2 separate regions of the Homo sapiens genome follow, and region 1 is linked to region 2. Evidence: promoter capture Hi-C in 16 types of primary human blood cells and fetal thymus (Javierre and others, 2016). All regions are on one chromosome and are shown on one strand. Each heading gives the region's core, a stretch centred on a gene start or on the middle of the fragment in contact. The rest is flanking DNA. Distances are from core to core; before and after follow the strand shown. Region 1 holds the start of HNF1A-AS1 (HNF1A antisense RNA 1). Region 2 holds the start of UNC119B (unc-119 lipid binding chaperone B).

Evidence for each region. The method cuts DNA at HindIII sites, captures the fragments that hold promoters and counts their contacts. A CHiCAGO score of 5 or more calls a contact.
Region 1: a contact is called between the fragment with the promoter of HNF1A-AS1 here and the fragment with the promoter of UNC119B in region 2, in 14 of 17 cell types (M0 macrophages, erythroblasts, activated CD4 T cells and 11 more). The highest score is 18.4, in M0 macrophages.

Annotation. Positions count from the first base shown.
Region 1 is chr12:120,970,612-120,977,114 of GRCh38, forward strand. It overlaps HNF1A-AS1 (HNF1A antisense RNA 1), which reads right to left and starts at 1,681. Exons shown (of 1, transcript NR_024345.1): 1 at 1-1,681. RefSeq lists an enhancer at 2,274-2,801. The HindIII fragment of the contact is 11,110 bases long and covers 1-6,503 here.
Region 2 is chr12:120,707,217-120,714,081 of GRCh38, forward strand. UNC119B (unc-119 lipid binding chaperone B) reads left to right here and starts at 3,242. Exons shown (of 5, transcript NM_001080533.3): 1 at 3,242-3,502; 2 at 6,058-6,171. The coding sequence starts at 3,259. LOC124903036 (a long non-coding RNA gene) reads right to left here and starts at 3,290. Exons shown (of 2, transcript XR_007063491.1): 1 at 3,221-3,290; 2 at 2,717-3,058. RefSeq lists silencers at 3,132-3,191, 3,282-3,551 and an enhancer at 3,159-4,001. The HindIII fragment of the contact is 2,396 bases long and covers 1,840-4,235 here.

The sequences.
Region 1 (6,503 bases), core at 431-2,930, 260 kb after region 2:
GGGGTTGAGTCGTCCATGCCCTTGAATGCCAGGATGAGGGCTAAAGAGTCAAATGGAATGGGTGACTTCATATGCAGAAGTTTTTACAAGAGAAGAGAACTCAGTTTGGCCAAGAGAAGTGGGGTCGTCATGTTGGTAATCACGTAACAGTGATCGTTCAGTCATGCGGAATGCTTTCAAGGTGTTGGACACTGTTCATTTTTTATTTTTAGTTTTTGAGGCAGGGTCTCACTCTGTCGCCCAGGCTGGAGTGCAGTGGTGCAATCTTGGCTCACTGCAACCTCTGTCTCCTGGGTTCAAGCGATTCTTCTGCCTCAGCCTCCCTAGTAGCTCGGATTACAGTTGTTTGCCACCACGCCCGGCTAATTTTTGTATTTTTAGTAGAAATGAGGTTTCGCCATGTTGGCCAGACTGGTCTCGAACTCCTGACCTCAAATGATCCACCTGCCTCGGCCTCCCAAAGTGCTGGGATTGCAGGTGTGATCCACCACACCTGGCCGCTTGCAGGGTGTTGGACACTGTGGATATCACCTCATTCATTCTCCTAACAACCCAAGAGAAGAGGAACTGAGGCAAAGAGAAGTTAAGCAAGTTGCCCAAGGCCATACGGCTAGTAAACGGCAGAACGAGGCTCAAACCCAGGCACTCTGGCTCTAGAGTGTGTGTTCCTAACCACTGTGCTCTAGCACCTCGGAACCTTAGTCTCTTCATCTGCAAAATCAGCACTGAGGTGACAAGGCCAACGAGCAGAGGGTTGGAGTTACCCAGAACAACAACAACAACAAAAGTAATAGTAACACATATTTGGTCAAGGCTTAGATTCTGGCGTCATGGGGATCTGGGTTCAAATCCTAATTCTGCCTTAGCCGATTAGGGTCCCTATCCTCTTAAAGCCTTGGTTTCCTTATCTGTAAAATGGGGATATCATGAAGCTGTTAGATGTTAAATGAGAAAATGAATGAGAAAATTGCATGTACTGTCCATAAAGTTGAAAAGATAATAGGGGTGGGAAGGAGAACAGTCCGAGTTTGAATGCAGGTGGGCCCTGGGGCATTGTCTGGACTGAAGGACAAGGGTCAGTTGAATTGCCAAAGAGCTCTGAGACTGGCTGAAGGGACACTCGTCTTGTGCTAGCTGCTAAGACCAAGGGGAAGCCTGTGCCTCGCCCGAATTTTAGTCTTGCAAACAGCTGCTCACCCAGTAGGAGAGAATTGTGATAAAACTCATAGCCACCATTTCTTGAATATCTACTATGCCCCGGGACACAGCAGACTATTTTAGAGAATTTGCGAAGGAAACACAGTGACATCTGTTGGACACCTTGCAAACTACCAGCTCAGGATAGTTAAATTTGAATGTTAGATGGAGGGAACTTCCTTTCCACAATGACATGATTTTGTAAAGCTGAGTGTATGGCAGTTGTCATGATTAAAAGCAAGTGCCATGCAGAAGTTATTGTGTAACAGGAAATGAGATTAGATAGCGTCCAATCTAATCTCAAGGTTTGAGTAGCTGTGGACAGCCCAACAGGCACAGGCCTCCCGTTAGTACATCCATACGAGAAGTTAAGAATGAGTGAAAATAGTTTTTTTTTTTTTAATTTATGTGCATTATTTTTTTCAAGCAGCTACCTTGTTAGGACATACTTAATAGTTATCTTGGCCTACCTACTGCACTTACTAAACAACTGTTCACTTTTTAATTTTTAATTTTCAGATTTTTTTGAGACGGATTGTTACTCTATCGCCCAGGCTGGAGTGCAGTGGCGTGATCTCTGCTCACTGCAACCTCCGCCTCCCGGGTTCAAGCTATTCTCCTGCCTCAGCCTCCTGAGTATCTGGGACTACAGGTGTGCGCCACCACATCCAGCTAATTTTTGTATTTTTAGTAGAGATGGGGTTTTACCATGTTGGCCAGGCTGATCTGGAACTCCTGACCTCAGGTGATCCACCTGCCTCGGTCTCCCAAAGCGCTGGGATTACAGGTATGAGCTACCATGTCCGGCTGTTCCTTTTTTTTTTTTTCTTTTTCTTTTTTTTTTGAGACGGAGTTTCTCTCTGTCACCCAGGCTGGAGTGCAGTGTCATGATCTCAGCTCACTGCAACCTCTGCCTTCTGGGTTCAAGTGATTCTCCTGCCTCAGCCTTCCGACTAGCTGGGATTATAGGTGCCCACTGACAAGCCTGGCTAATTTTTGTATTTTTAGTAGAGACGGGTTTTCACCATGTTGGCCAGGCTGGTCTCGAACTCCTGACCTCAAGTGATCCACCCACTTCGGTCTCCCAAAGTGCTGGGATGACAGGCATGAGCCACTGCGCCCAGCCACTGTTCGCTTTTTTTCTCAGTGGTTCTCTAGTCCATTGCCTTAACCACTCACCATGACTACAGCTCTTATTTGCAGTGACTCTCAAGAATGCAAATGCAAATGCCATTCCTGACCTCGAGTTAATTCAGCTTTGTCCCCTGAGCATGGGGGAAAGGCAGGCTGGGGGCTGGAACTTTCTGCTTGTGTACCTATCTCTTTAGACTCTGGAGGCTCCTCCCCAATCTCTGTCATTCCCTCTCCAACCAAATCCACCTGCCGTCCCAGACTCAAATGCTCAGCCACCTAACTGCCTGAGGACCCAGCAGTTAATGAGTTTACATGCTGGGGGCAGGAGTCAGGGCCAACACTCCTTGGTTCCTCTGGCTCCCTGGAAAGGGAAAGTCACCAAGAGGCAGCTGCAGGCAGCAAAGAGAATAAGCAGGAGAACCTCAAAGCCACAAAGGGACAGCACACAGCATCTTCCCTGTTTAGCCTGGACTTGAGAATGCTGTCCCCAGCAGTAAGCTGCTCAACCTCAAAGCAACTTGCACGGGGGTTTACAAAAAAATGCACTTGGCCGGGCACGGTGGCTCACGCCTATAATCCCAACAGTTTGGGAGGCCGAGGTGGGTGGATCTTTTGAGGCCAGGAGTTTGAGACCAGCCTGGCAAACATGGTGAAACCCTGTCTCTACCAAAAATACAAAAATTAGCCAGGCATGGTGGTGTGTGCCTGTAGTCCCAGCTACTCAGGAGGCTAAGGTAGGAGGATTGCTCGAACCCAGGAGGCAGAGGTTACAGTGAGCTGAGATCGCACCACTGTACTCCAGCCTGGGTGACAAAGTGAGGCTCTGTCTCAAAAATAAAAATAAAACATAAATGCACTGGAGGAAAGAGGGTACCACTCTCCTTAAGGCGGGGGCTGCCAACTTGTCCTGCACAGCCCGTCCGCCTGCCTCAGGTGGACTTAAAGCCCAGCTCTGAGGGACTCTGAGCAGTCATTTAACCTCTCTGAGCCTCTCTTTCCTCCCCTGCAGAAGGGGGATTATAACAGTTCCTAATTCATGAGTTGTTCTTGGAGTGAAATACATTACTGGCCAGGTGAGATGGCTCATGCCTGTAATCCCAACACTTTGGGAGGCTGAGGTGAGAGGATTGCTTGAGCCCAGGAGTTCGAGACCAGCCTGGGCAACAAAGCAAGACCCCCATCTCTAAGAAAAGTAAATAAATAGGCAGGGTGCAGTGGCTCACCCCTGTAATCCCAGCACCTTGGGAGGACGAGGTGGGCAGATGGCTTGGGCTCAGGAGTTTGAGACCAGCCTGGGCAATGTGGCAAACTCTTGTCTCTACTAAAAAATACAAAAATTAGCGAGGCATGGTGGCACACGCTTGTAGTCCCAGCTATTGGAGAGGCTGAGGTGGGAGGATCACGGGAGCCCCAGAAGCATAGGTTGCAGTTTGCCAAGATTGTGCCACTGCACTCCAGCTCGGGCGACAGAAGGAGACCCTGTCTCAAAAAACAAACAAAAAAGATAAATATATAAATGAAGCTGGGCATGATGGTGCGTACCTGTAGTTCCAGCTACTTGGGATGCTGAGGTGGGAGGATTGCTTGAAGCCAGGAGTTCTAGGCTGAAGTGAGCTATGATCATGCCAGCCTGGGTGACAGAGTAAGAATCTGGCTCTTAAAAAAATAAAAAGTAAAATGGAACAGGTGAAGTTATTTTCTTTAATTTTTAAAATAAAAAGTTATTTTTATAAATAAAATTTTAATTTAAACCAAATTATTTTAAACTAAATATAACATTATATTTGTATAATATATAAATAATATTTTAATTAAATCTAATTTAAAATTATTCTAAATGTTAACTTTTTTTTTTTTTTTTTTTTTTTGAGAGGGAGTCTCGCTCTGTCGCCCAGGCTGGAGTACAGTGGCGCGATCTCGGCTCACTGCAAGCTCCGCATCCTGGGTTCACGCCATTCTCCTGCCTCAGCCTCCTAAGTAGCTGGGACTACAGGCGCCCGCCACCACGCCAGGCTAATTTCTTGTATTTTTAGTAGAGACGGGGTTTCACCATGTTAGGCAGGATGGTCTCAATCTCCTGACCTTGTGATCCGCCCACCTCGGCCTCCCAAAGTGCTGAGATTACAGGCGTGAGCCACCGCGCCCGGCCTAAATGTTAACTTTTAAATTGTCTTTTTTTTTTTTTTTTTTTTTTTTGAGACAGTGTCTTGCTGTATCACCCAGGCCAGAGTGCAGTGGCATGATCTTGGTTCACTGCCACCTCCGCCTCCCAGGTTCAAGTGATTTTCCTGCCTCAGCCTCCTGAGGTTAATTTTTGTATTTTTATTACAGATGGGGTTTCACCATATTGGTCAGGGTGGTCTCGAACTCCTGACCTCAGGTGATCTACCCACCTTGGCCTCCCAAAAGTGCTGGGATTACAGGCGTTAGCCACCACGCCCGGCCAAAATTTTCTTAATTTAAAAATTTAACTCAATATATTTTTTAAAAATTATCATTTCAAGAAGTGACATTAGCCATCTTTCAAGTGCTTGGTAGCCACATGTGGCTGGTGGGTGAGGGCAGGGCCTGTTTTTTTTTTTTTTTTTTTTTTTGAGACAGAGTTTTGCTCTTGTTGCCCAAACTGGAGTGCAATGGCGTGATCTCGGCTCACTGCAACCTCCGCCTCCTGGGTTCAAGTGATTCTCCTGTCTCAGCCTCCTGCGTGCATCACCATGCCCAGCTTTTTAAATTTTTAGTAGAAATGGGGTTTCATCATGTTAGCCAGGCTGGTCTCAAATTCCTGACCTCAGGTGATCCACCCACCTCGGCCTCCCAAAGTACTGGGATTACAGGCATGAGCCACTGTGCCTGGCCACAGGGCCTGTATTTAGATGTTTGCTATTTTGTTCAGCACAGATTATTTTACATTAGTTAAAAAATATTTTTTGAGGCCGGGCATGGTGGCTCACACCTGTAATCCCAGCACTTTGTGGGGCTGAGATGGGAGGATCTCTTGAGTCCAGGAGTTTGAGACCAGCCTGGGCAACATGGTGAAACTCCGTCTCTACCAAAAATACAAAAAAAAAAAAAAAAAAAATTAGCTGGGTGCAGTGGTGCACACCTGTAGTCCCAGCTACTCGGGAGGCTGAGGTAGAAGGATGATTTGAGCCCAGGAGGCGGAGGTTGCAGTGAGCCCAGATCATGCCATTGCACTCTAGCTTGGGCAACAGAGCCAAACCCTGTCTCAAAAAATAAAAATAAATAAAAATGAAAAAAAAAATCAGAATTGCACACATGAAATGGGTGAATTGTATGGTAAGTATATCTCAATAAAGCTACAACAATATTTTTATTGATTTACATACCATCAAACTCGCCCTTTTAAAATGTGCAATTCATTGGGTTTTAATAAAGTCACAGAGTTGTCCGATATCACCACAATCAATTGTAGAACATTTTTATCATCCTAAAGAAACCCAGCACCATGGAGTGGCCACTCCCCATTCCCTTCTCCCACCCAGGCCCTGACAACCACAAATCCACTTCCTGTCTCTATGGATTTGCCTGTTCTGGACATTTCAGATAAATGGACTCACACACTATGTAGTCTTTAGTGACCACTTTTTCACTTAGCATCATGTTTTCAAGGCTCATGCATGTTGTGGCATGTACTGGAACTCCATTCCTTTATATGACCAAATAATATACCATTGCATTGGCTGGATGCGGTGGCTCATGCCTGTAATCCCAGCACTTTGGGGGGCCAAGGCGAGGGCATCACCTAAGGTCAGGAGTTCGAGACTAGTCTGGCCAACATGGTAAAACCCCATCTCTACCAAAAATACAAAAATTAGCTGGGCGTGGTGGTACATACCTGTAGTTCCAGATACTCGGGAGGCTCAGGCAGGAGAATTGCTTGAACCCGGGAGGCGGAGGTTGCAGTGAGCCAAGATTGCACCACTGCACTCCAGCCTGGGCAACAGAGCGAGACCCCCATCTCAAAAAAAAAAAAAAAGAAAGAAAAAAATATATATGTCTATACCATTGCATGGTCAAGCCATATTTTGTTTATATATTCATCAGGTGATGAATATTTATGTTTTTTCCACTTTTTGGCTCTTGTGAATAATGCTGCTATGAGCATTCACGCACAAGTTTTTGTATAGACATCTGTTTTTAATTCTTTGGGG
Region 2 (6,865 bases), core at 1,992-4,491:
GCTGGAGTGCAGTGGCGCGATCTCAGCTCACTGCAACCTCCACCTCCCAGGTTCAAGCGATTCTCCTGCCTCAGCCTCCCAAGTAGCTGGGACTAAAGGAGTGTGCCACCATGCCCGGCTAATTTTTGTAGTTTTAGTAGAGACGGGGTTTCACCATATTGGTCAGGCTGGTCTCGAACTCCTGACGTTGTGATCTGCCTGCCTCGGCTTCCCAAAGTGCTGGAATTATAGCCGTGAGCCACTGCACCTGGCCGGTATTTTCTTTTTAAAAAAGTATACAAGCAGCCCATGATTATATGCTTGAGATAAAATAGTACAGAAGTAGTAGTTCTAAATAATGTCAAAAGTGAATATATTTCCTTTAGTCTCTTCTGATACTCTCCTCCCCAGACGTAATCAAAGTTAATGTTTTAATGTATATCCAGACCTCTTCCTTTACAGTTACAAATGCATATTTATATTTATGTCTATGTCTATCTGTGTTTTTTTTTTTTTTTTTTTTGAGACAGGGTCTCACGCCCATGGCCCAGGCTAAAGTGCAGTGGTGCGATCTCAGCTCACACAGCCTCGGCTTCCTGGGCTCCGGTGATTCTCCCACCTCAGCCTCCTGAGTAGCTGGGACTACTGGCATGCACCACCACGCCCAGCTAATTTTCGTATTTTTAGTAGAGACGGGGTTTTGCCATGTTTCCCAGGCTGGTCTCGAACTCCTGGGCTCAAGCAATTTGCTCACCTTGGCCTCCCAAAGTGCTGGGATTACAGGCATGAACCACCACACTCGGCCCACATCTAAATATTTATATACTTTTTATTTTAAATAAATGGGATTCGCGGCTGGATGCAGTGAGCTGTGATTGTGCCACTGCACTGCAGCCTGGGTGACAAGAGTGAGACCCTGTCTTAAATAAATAAATACACAAATATGACTCTGTGCCTTGCTTTTTGCCCTACTTAATATATGTTTGAGATCTTTCCATACTAATATATATGTCTCATTTTTTAAAACAGCTCTATGTAACGTGAATGGATACAAATGTAATTTATTGTAATTTGTCAATATTACAAATCTCTGTGCATGCAGGTAGGGTAAATTCCTAGATGTGGAATTGCAGGTGAAGAGGTTACATTTGCCATCATCCCTAGAAAGAGAAAAGCCATGGTCCAGGTAACTAGTCTTGGTGCTATGAGAACAAACCTTCCGTAAATAAGTATATGGGAAATGACCACATGCTAAACCACCCTCTTGGCCATTCACAATCAAGTAGCATATTAAAAGTTCTGGAAATTCTTCAGTAACCACTCTGTTGAGTGGTTTAAAAAGAGTTGTTTGTAAAAGGAAAGACTTTAATTCTTTGTACACATTTATTAAAATCTCCCTGAACAGTTAGTTAAATGCCACCATATACTAATCTCTCAAAGACAGTACAGCATTTGGGTAGGAATTTGGCCACACACTATGCCACCCAATTGGGCAGCTGGGGTGGGGTCAGGTTTGGACTTTGTCCAGGAACCAAGAGATGCCTGTCTTGGTGGCTTTGGTGAGAGGGACTCAGCAAGCAAGGCCTGGCAAGAACGTCAAGAGGCTCTGGGGGACGGTTGCAATTTTACTCTAGCCTGGCTGAGAGGTGATGTCAGACCTAGCAGACACACTGCATCAATCAGGCCCAGGCCTCCAACACAGAACAGTGCAGATCTAGAATCCCTAGAGAAGGAGCCCCTCAGGGTGGAAGACGGTAGACCACATCCCCCTGTTGACCCACTTCTGGCTAATTGGTGAGGTCATGGCTAACTTCCAAAGCTCAGTGCAGATATTGCCTCTGAAAACTTCCGAAGCCCTCAAGCTTTTACAGCCAGGTCAGAATAAACCACTCCTGTGTGTTCTCCTAGCACCTTTGCTGCATCTCTTAGTGCAGTCAGTGAATCTAGTTTGTCTTCCAGTTCATACTAACCTACCTTGTGAAAAGGAAGGGTCACATAATGAATTGTGTACTTTACAGTCTTCTCTAACAAAAGTGGGAGCTCTTCCATAGTGGGATACTGTTCAGGCTCTCATTCAATCATTACTGAGCACCTACCACGTGTCAGGCATTAGCTGAACTGCTGGGAATTCAGGGGTGAGGCAGACCCAATCCCTGCCCTCACTCTTACATCTCCTGTAGCCTAGCCCAATGTCTAGCCCAGGGCCTGGCACAGTAGGGCTTACGGATGGCAATCTCATTGGAAAGTTTGTCTTGAAACTGCCTTTGCAAAACAAACACTGCTTTAACTTACCTTCTATGCTAAATATATTAATAAACATTTTCTCAAGATGCATTGTCCACTAATAGCTTAGTGTTGAAGAACAGGCCTTGGGTCAGATGGACCTGGATTAAAATCCCTGTTCCCTCCTCTTACTGCTTGAGGGACTTTGGACATGTTACCTGACTTCTCTGAACTTGAGCTTCCTGATCTGTAAAATGGAGACAGTAATACCTCACAGGGTTGTTGTGAGGTGAGGAGCCTGCCCTATAGCAAGTGTCCTGCCATATAGCAAGTGCGCAGTAAACACTGGCCATTCTTCTTCTTGGTGTGATTACTGGGAATTAGTTGCCATTGTGCTGTTGGGACTGGTGACAGAACTCTTGGATTGAGAATGCCGAGATGGTGCACGGAAGATTCTGTGTGCTCTTTCAGACCAGGAGGAGGATGAGGAGGAGGAAAGTTTATATGACGTAAATTCATTTGACCGTAAGATATGTATTTAAACATCGTGGAGGATCTTGGGGGTCTGATGGGGAGTGGGGTTGCTGAAGCTCCAGCCACCCCTAGGCCCTCCACCTGGCAGGACCAAAGTTGGGGCAGTAGCCGAAGCACCGCCCCCCGGGCCCCGCAGGAGTGTGCAGTCACCCAGTTAGGCCTATCTTGGCCTGCCCATCACTCCTGGCCTGCGGTCTCCTAACCCTGTGGCAGCAGCAGCATTCCCTGAATGGATCGAAGGCTGCCATGGTGTCGTCCGCTGAATTGCTATAGGAGTCAGCCCAGGGCTGCTCATGTGCACCTCAGGTTGCTGATGGCAGCTCTAGTTATTTGGGGATGGAAGTTTGGGGAGAGTGGGCCTTGGTCCACCCTGTGCGAAAGGGAATTCCACAGCCCCCCGGGCGCCCGCCCCCGCCCCCGCCCCGCCCCCTCCCCGCCCCTTCCCCGCCGGGCCCCGGGCCCCGCCCCCGCTCTCCATAGTTACCGCGCTGTGGAGGCGGCGGCCATCTTGGCGGCGGAGCGATGAGCGGGTCTAACCCGAAGGCTGCGGCCGCGGCGTCGGCGGCTGGGCCCGGGGGGCTGGTGGCTGGCAAGGAGGAGAAGAAGAAGGCGGGCGGCGGCGTCCTGAACCGCCTGAAGGCGCGGCGGCAGGCGCCCCACCACGCGGCCGACGACGGCGTCGGGGCAGCGGTCACGGAGCAGGAGCTGCTGGCGCTGGACACCATCCGGCCCGAGCACGTCCTGCGCCTCAGCCGGGTCACCGAGAGTGAGTGCCGCGCGGGCCGCGCCCTCCCCTCGCGCCGTGCCCCGGCTCCCGGAGCCTTCAGCGGACCCGGCCACTTGACCAGCGCGGGGGTCCCCGCCAGACCCCCTCGGCCGGCCGGGCCGCGCTTCCCGCTGCCCCGCCGGCCGGGCTTTGCTCCCGCCACGCTCACGTAGCTCTGGTGGGGAAGGACTCTCCTGGGCTGGACCGCATTCCTGTGAGTCCGGCCACGCTAGGATGCCCTTCGGCCGGTCGGCTCCCCAGCTCTGCCGGACCTGTTTGGGTAGAGGGCCCCGTTCAGCTGAACTGGATCCTCCTGAGCCGGCCGGGGGCCGAGGTCCCCTAATAAATGGGCCCCTGGGCCCTCAGCCTGGAACCCCCGGCCATCAGTGAAGTTCCCGCTCAGCCAGGCTCCCCCAGCCCTCTGGCAGGCCAGAAGCCTTACCTGCTTCCTCCGCCCTGGCCCCATGGCAGCCCTCCCCCATTGCAGCCTGCCCGGCCTCCCTCCCTCTTTGGGTCGGGAGCGTTGCCCCTTAGTGTGCAGATGGGTTCTTCCTCAAAACACATAGCCGTGGCATTTCCTGCTCATTTAAAACTGTGCCACATTAAAACAAAAATAAAGTTTCAGTTTGTGTACAGACTCCGACATGTGAATCCTGCTTTTGACATTCTCGTGAATTAAGAATGATTTCAGAGTTTCAGAAATGCGTTTCCTGCACAAAAGGCAACCATCCTAAGCTTTTTCGTTGATAGGAGGATGGGTGGGAAGAAAAATGTTGCCCAGTCCCTGCCCTGGGTGATCTCCCTTTTTCTGTTCTCTGCCAAGCCAGTCCCTGACTTGACGTCTTTTCTCTTGCTGCTGTTTTCCCTGCAGGAGTGTGCACTCACCTAGTTAGGCCTATCTTGGCCTGCCCATCACTCCTGGCGTGCAGTCTCCTAACCCTGTGGCAGCAGCAACATTCCCTGGATGGATCGAAGGCTGCCATGGTGTCTGCTGAGCTGCTATAGCAGGCAGCCCAGGGCTGTTCAGGTGCACCTCAGGTTGCCGATTGCAGCTCTAGTAATTTGGGGATGGAAATTTGGGGGGAGTAGGCCTTGGTCCACCCTGTGCGAAAGGGAATTCCCATTTCCTAAAAGAGTTTTAATTTGATTCTAGATATTTGGATGCCCCCGTTTCCCAATACTGTTTGGGTTGAGACTGTCCTTACCAGACCTGAACGTATCTTTAGACATTCTTGTTAGTTTTATTGAAACAGTGTGAAAAAGCTTCTTTTCTTCTGAACCAGTTTTCATTTGGGGCTCTGAAAGTACAGATGCTCAGCACCTGGTCTTGGTAACCTCATGCCCTCTCCTGCCATCCAAGTGAGTTAGGGTATTCTGTGCCTGGCCCTAAGCAGGATTCTCAGTGGGCACTCAGATCCTATCTGGGGGCTTGGGATTGTTGCTCATTGTCCAAACCCACCTCTGCAGCTTCTTAGAGTCTGGCAACCTCTTTGTTACTCTTCTTAACGTCTCGTTCATTCTATCCAGCAGATTATTTGAGTACCCTCTAAGAGTCCAAAGCCAATGTTAGCCTTTTTAGCAGTTACAGAATAATCAGTAGTTGTCAAGTTTGTCGTCTTAATAAAGAGACAACTTGTAAAACACGAAAACAACTAACTCAGGCAATAAAAGATCAAGTATCAAAATGAGCTGTGGAGAAGATGCTATCCGGAATCATCCTAGAAAGAAATCAGTGAAATTTGCTGTGATTAGAATTATTTCAATTTGCGGCTCATGTTCTAGTCACTTGGGCCTAATGTCTTCACCGGCAGATTTATCCTCTTGCCTGGATATGTATGATATGTATTGTCTACTGTATGATTTTGTGTAGCCCACAAACTAAGATTAGGTTTGTACATTTTTAAATGGTTGAAAAAAACTTTAAAATCTTGAGACACGTGGTTATGTAAAATTCATATTTCAGTGTCCATAAATACAGTTTTACTGGAATATAGCCACATTCATTCATTTGCGTATTGTCTGTGGATGCTTTTGTGGCTACAATGATAGAGTTGAGTAGTTGTGACAGAGACCATGTGGCGGCAAAGCCTAAATTATTTAGAATCTGGCTCTACAGAAAAGTTTGCTGATCTCGGCTTTCTTACACTGACAGTTGGCAAACTAACGTTGGCAAACTAGCACTGTATTATCTGCTAAGTCAGTTTAAATGTCTTAGATTGGAATTCTATAAAAAGTTCGCCCTGTTCTGACATCCAACTTGATAGATGATGAAAGATTTTTATGTGTTTCCAAAGAAATCCACCTTTTCTATCCTAGTTTCTAAAAGTTTTGCAATTTTTCATCCAAAGCAAGTCCTTGTTATTTTTTTTCTTTGTTGGATCCCCTAATTCTGTCCATACAACTTCTGCTGGTGATAACACATGAGAAAGTTTTTGGGAGTATTTTAAGTGTGTTGTGTAAGAAAAAATCTGAGTTTGCTTCAAAACTTGAGAATTAAATAAATGGTAGTTTTGGAGGATTATTTAACAGTGTTGGTTTCTCTCTCTTGTTTTCAGATTATTTATGTAAACCCGAAGACAACATCTACAGTATTGATTTCACCCGCTTCAAAATTCGAGATTTGGAGACAGGGACAGTACTTTTTGAGATTGCCAAACCTTGCGTTTCAGGTAGGCCTCTACGTTGTGGTGACCACTAGACAGTTTTGAGCCAAAGGTCTTTGAAACTCAAATCTTTGTGTGCCACTGCATCCTGTTTCTTGGACTCCAGTGTGTCCCACTTCTGTGACCTCTTCCCGTGGCCTGGTCTGCCAGGCATGGTGGTTTGAAGCTGCGTTCAGAGGCTGATGTTTGTTGGATGTCTATTCTGTGCTGGTCACTGTGTTCCACGTCTTTGTGCACATCAGTGTATGTAATCCTCACACCTCTTTGAGGAATTACTGTTATCTCTGTTTTACAGCGAAGGATCTGAGGCCTACAATTCCCAGGCGGCTCTTTCCTAAGGCCCTGTGCTGGTTCATCTTACCATGTTGCCTCCAGTTGGGAAAGGAATCCTTGAAATTAAACTATAATGAGGAAAACTCACCTGAGCCTGGTGCCCTCTTGGAGGGTGATAGGGAGGATCCTGGTCCAGACATGAGGCAGTTTGAGCCATCTTCTTGCTCTCTTTTACATATTGCCTTGGAGTTCCCAGACCTAGTTTGGATTTTAATCTCAACCATTTTCTGGAAGAACAGACCCAGGAACTCAACTACTTGGGGTTCCTTAAATTAGCCTCCCATAGCCGCTTCCTGTGCTTGTGATAAAGTGCCAGGCTGATCTGGACCACAGAAGCCTTTGGAGCACCTCACTGGAGGTTTAGCGC